Regions from separate parts of the Homo sapiens genome. Here region 1 is linked to region 2. Evidence: promoter capture Hi-C in 16 types of primary human blood cells and fetal thymus (Javierre and others, 2016). All regions are on one chromosome and are shown on one strand. Each heading gives the region's core, a stretch centred on a gene start or on the middle of the fragment in contact. The rest is flanking DNA. Distances are from core to core; before and after follow the strand shown.

Region 1 (2,700 bases), core at 191-2,690, 230 kb before region 2:
TGTATTTCCAGCTACTCAGGAGGCTGAGGCAGGAGAATCACTTGAACCCAGGAGGCAGAGGTTGCAGTGAGCTGAGATCGCACCACTGCACTCCAGCCTGGGTGATAGACTGAGACCCCATCTAAAAAAAAAAAAAAAGTTTAGGATTTTACAGCATTTCAGATTTCAGATTTCTAGATTAGGGATGCTCAACCTGTAGTAGTTTTATCTAGCCTTCTTCCTAGCTGACTACAGAGAATCCACTTATCCAAGATCTGAAGAATCCAATTTAGGTTGGTTGTTCTCTAGACATTGCTTTATTATTTTGCAGCATTCAGTGTTCCTGACAGGTGTCTGCTTTTCATTCCTTTCCAAGTAATCTACTTTCCTCTCTGCAAGGTTATCTTGGTGTTCTTTTTTTTTTTTTTTTAAATTATTAGACAGGGTATCACTCTGTCACCCAGGCTGGAGTATAGTAGCATGATCATAGCCCACTGTAACCTCAAACTCCTGGGCTCAAGCAATCCTCCTGCCTCAGCCTCCCAAGTAGCTAGGACTGCAGGCATGTGCCACCACACCCAGCTAATTTTTTAAATTATTTGTAGAGACAGGGTCTCACTATATTGCCCAGACTGGTCTCGAACTCCTGACCTCAAGTGTCCTCCCACTGCAGCCTCTCAAAGCACTGAGATTACAGGCATGAGCCACTGTACCTAGCCTTGATGTTCTAAACTTTTACCCTGGCCTTTTCACTCTGTTTAATAGTAGGTAGACATTTTACATCTGAAGATTCATGCTTTTCTTAAACTCTTGGAAATTATTTTCTATTAGATCTTTGATAATTTCTTCTTTGTTTTCTCTGTTCTCTTTCTAGGACTTCTGTTAGTCAGATGTTAGACTTCCTGGGTTGATCCTCTATGTCTCTCTCTTTTTTATTATTTATTTATTTATTTATTTATTTATTTTTTTTGAGACAAGGTCTTGCTCTGTTGCCCAGACTGGAGTACAGTGGCACAAATACGACTCACTGCAGCCTCGACCTCCCGGGCTCAAGCAATCCTCATGCCTCAGCCTCCTGAGTAGCTGGGACCACAGGTGCACACCAGCATACCCAGCTAATTTTTTAATCTTTTGTAGAGATGGGGTCTCACCATGTTGCCCAGGCTTCTTATTTTTTATCTTATGTTTTCTGTCTCTTTTTTCTTTTGCTGTGACCTGGGAGATTTTGTCAACTTTATCTTCAAGCCCTTCTGTTGAATTATGTATTTAGATATCCTGTTAAACTCCAAAAGCTCTTTCTTCCTCTCTGTTTCTATGTCCTCTCATACCTGATCTTGTTTTTATAGAGTATGGATTAGAAGTGCCGGCTGGGTGCGGTGGCTCATGCCTGTAATCCCAGCACTTTGGGAGGCCGAGGTGAGTGGATCACTTGAGGCCAGGAGTTCGAGACCAGTCTGGCCAACATGGTGAAACCCCATCTCTACTAAAAATACAAAAATTACCCAGACGTGATGGTGCGCACCTGTAATCCCAGCTACTCAGGAGGCTGAGGCAGGAGAATCGCTTGAACCCAGGAGGCGGAGGTTGCAGTGAGACAAGATCATGCCACTGCACTCCAGCCTGGGCGATAGAGGGAGACCCTGTCTCAAAAAAGGAAGTGCCTTAAGTTTCTTCTGTTGTCTGAGTTATGTCTCTTTATTCTGAGGCTGGTTGAATTATTTTTTTCTTGGTCCTTCTCTTTTATGCTGATGGTTTTCCTCAAATGTCTAGCAATCCTTATTTGGCTATTTATACCCAAGAATGAAGGCCCATTGTAGGGGGCTGTCAGAGGACTACTCTGCTGCAGTGTTTGTAGGTCTGTTTTCCTGAAAGGCATTTCCCCAGAATGGGGACAGGGAATGTCCACTGACAGGTTGCAACTTTAGCGAGTGTGGGCAAGGACCCGGGCATTAGATGGGATCCTGCCAGATGTCAGAACAAAGGAGGCCTCTTCTTTGGGGTAACATCTCTTTTTTCCCTCAGCCTTTCCAAAGTGTATCTGTTGTACTTATCTTTTCCAGTGTAGCTTTGGGCTTTGTTGGTCATCTCTACTGTTTTATTATGGTGGGTTTTTAATACTTCATTAATTTTTCTGGTTTTATCTTTATTAATGTTTTCCTCCGACGTTCTTTATTTTGTTCATTTCTGGCTTCTGGAATTTAATGCTTCAACATTTATCAACTCATTGGCCGATCTCATTTCATCTATACCTGTACCCACTGCCCTCTTCCTGTTTTCCTTCAAAGCTAATCCCAGATACCATATAATTTCTCCTGTAAATATTTCAGAATGCATCTCTAAAACATAAGTACACTTTTTTAGAAAAGCATTACCTTAGTATCAATACCTGAAAATTAACAATAATTATTTTTTTAATCTGCCAAGGGTCTGTCATTCAAAGAATTCTTTAATATCATTAATCATTCTTTTTGTTTGAATAAATGCATAGGAGGCTATAGCTGTGTGTTCTTTCATGGGTACACTATTGATTACACACACAGATGTGAAACACTGTGAATATATTCAGTGCATTCTTCCTTATTAACAAACGTGTGTAAACAAACAAACAAAAAGAACATGTCCATGCCCTTGGATCTCCCAGCTCCCCATCTCTCAGTCTCTGAACTCCAGCAGCAGGGAGACAAACTGGATAATCCTTAAAATACTGTTGTGAAGACAAGG
Region 2 (2,700 bases), core at 28-2,527:
TGAGCAGGGAGGGCTGGGGCTCCAAAGCCCATTGATGAAAGTAAGGATGAGAAGAGGCCAGAGGGGATCCACCCAGGCAGGGATGGTGCAATCTGTACTCGTTCCAGCTCTATGGACAGATTCAAGATTACCCCCAGGAGCTCGGAGATCGAAAAGAAGATAAAAAGAAAAGGGGTGTGGGGCTAGGGAGTGGGAAGGGCTGAGAGGCTAGAGCGAGTAGCAGCATGAACAAGAGCCTCCTCTGGGTTCCCAAACAAGGTCTGAGGCCTCTGAGCTAAGAGGTAACATCATCGCCCTCTGCCTGGCTGTCTATCTTCCATTCAGGCCCTTAACAGGTGTGGGAAGAGGGCTTTTCCACTATCCTTGGGATCTGCCCCAGCTGGGTAGGCGGGCAGAGGGGAAAGGATTATTCTGGTCAAGTCTTGCTGAATGTTGCTTCTCTTGTTCATTCACACGCACTCACAAGGCTGGTCCCAGGCAGCATATCTGAGATACCTCCAAATCCCTCCAGATTCATGTTATCCCCAAACACAGCAACCAGTCACTGAGAGGCACCAAGCTCCCAAGACAGCACTTCTGTCCCTCAGGACCCCTTCTCCCACACTGAGGGAAAAAAGATTCTAGGATTCCCTTAAAACCAGTGCCTCACCTGACAGTGTCCCCTCAAATTCATTCCCCTCATGTCCGACTGAAAATCCCCGAATTCAGCCTCTAATCAGAGACCCTGTCTACCAAGTTCAGCTATCTCAGACCAGTTTCTGGATACTCCAGAATAGGCCCCTCTAGACGCAGTCAAGGGCTCCCCAAACCTGACCCAGACCCCGCTTAATGCACTCCCACGACTCCTTTAATAAAGCCACAATCCAAGCAGGCCACTGCCGGATTCCTTAGGTGCCCCCCCAAGACGGGCGCCCCGACGTCCTCCAAGGCTAGGCCGAGGGCCTCCAATCCCAGTCCGGGGCCCCCACTGCCCCCGAGATCAGGCCCCTGGGAGCCCCAGTCGGCACTCCCAGCCCCAGGCGGCCCCGCACCTGAGCAGCTGAGCCGAGTCGGCCGGCCTGCGCTCCTCCAACAGCACGAACACGGCTCGAGGGCCCTCCGCGCTGGCCTCTACGCCATCCCGAGCTGGTTCGGCCGCATGAGACATGACGCCCGGCCCCGGGCGAGCCCTGCCAGGCCGGTCGGGCCTCGGCCCGGTCCCCCTAACAAAATAAGAGTCCCCCCTCCCCCCAGCTCGCCACCGCCGCCTCCTCCGCTAAGCCATGGAGCTAGCACTGCGCGGGCGGGCGGCGTCGGGGAGATGGGATGGGCTGTGAGTCATCCCCCGCCCAGAACGGACCGACGCCCCCCCTCAACCTAACCCCGGACGACCGCCCTCCTCCCCCTCGTCTTCTTCCCCCTCCTCCCTCCTCCCAGGGATGGGGAAACTCCACAGGAAGTGACCGCACTGGGGATGGATGGCCCGTCTGGCCACGACCCATTAGCGAGGCGGCCAATCGCTGAACGGCGATTCGAGGGCCCACCCTAAGCGACGCCTCCGACGCGGAGGAAAAACGCGATTCGGCCCGCCCTCATTCCGAGAAGCAGCACCCAGACCACGCCCTCAGGGGCAGCGACAAATAGGCGAGGGTTGATTTGGTTGAACCACGCCTCTATGTTTGCGTCGCTTTCGGAGCCACGCCCTCTCTTCTCAAATTATCCCTCTGCAAGGTAATATTAAGCCGCTCCTTGGGTCCTCTGCGCCTGCGCATCGATGGCCAGTCGGCGCACGGAGGGTCTCCTGGCCAAGCTTTTAGCTGCGGAACCGCGCCCTCTTTCGGCCAATATTTGTAATATCTGAGCCCTAGACCGCGCTCCAACCTCGATCTGGCTGTGCTCTCTCAGCCAAAGCCATAACTATGAGGCAGAGGCAGCTACATTCCCTGAAGGTGCGGGCCAGAAACCCCCCCCTTTCGCTGTCCGCAGTCCAGCCGCCCAGCTGGTCTTCCGGGAGTATTCCGCCTGTTCCATGCCATCGAGAGCGGTTGTACTATGTTCATTGCGCTGCGCAATATGTGCTTAATAAATTCTTGACGGGTGAATGAATCTGGTCCCTTCGGTGAATGACGACTTCTGGAATCACAAAGATCCAGGTTTGAATAGGGAAGGGGACCTCCCCTCTCCCAGCCTCAGCTTTCCTGGCCTGTTAAATGGGGGTCAAAATACCTGTCTGGCAGGGTTGTTCTGAGGATTAAAGATAATGTATGAAAAGTGCTAGCAGGTTGTTTGGCATACAAGAAGCTTCCCAAAATTAGTTGATTCACTCATTTGTTCACTTATTCAACATTCACTGAGCGCTTCTGTATGCCAGACGCATGCAAGCCGGCTCGCACAAGGCGGAGGGTCTCACTCATATATCCTCAGGTGCAAATAGCTCACAAAACACCCAGACCTACAGCCTTCCCTTCCTCTTTCCTGACATCCCAAGACCCCACCCTGAGTTGCGCCTCCAGGAATTTCACCGGGCTTTCATTTACCTTGGACCTTCCTGTATTGGCATCATTATTTCACAGGTCTGTCAGTTGCTTTCGTAAACTCATCCATACTCACACACAACCATCTCGTACAAGGGGGAAACCTCTACATAATAAAGATGACTTCTGGCCGGGCGCGGTGGCTCATGCCTGTAATCCCAGCACTTTGGGAGGCCGAGGCGGGTGG

Evidence for each region. The method cuts DNA at HindIII sites, captures the fragments that hold promoters and counts their contacts. A CHiCAGO score of 5 or more calls a contact.
Region 1: a fragment that was not itself captured here is called in contact with the fragment with the promoter of TFE3 in region 2 in 1 of 17 cell types (activated CD4 T cells); the score reaches 5.1 in activated CD4 T cells.

The regions. Positions count from the first base shown.
Region 1 is chrX:48,809,678-48,812,377 of GRCh38, forward strand. All of the region lies in intron 10 of HDAC6 (histone deacetylase 6), which reads left to right. Among named protein-coding and RNA genes, the nearest start is that of HDAC6, 9.0 kb to the left of the region's middle. The HindIII fragment of the contact is 7,978 bases long and covers 1-2,700 here.
Region 2 is chrX:49,042,080-49,044,779 of GRCh38, forward strand. It overlaps TFE3 (transcription factor binding to IGHM enhancer 3), which reads right to left and starts at 1,278. Exons shown (of 10, transcript NM_006521.6): 1 at 1,032-1,278. The coding sequence starts at 1,147. RefSeq lists an enhancer at 604-1,467 and a silencer at 1,009-1,248. The HindIII fragment of the contact is 3,845 bases long and covers 1-1,787 here.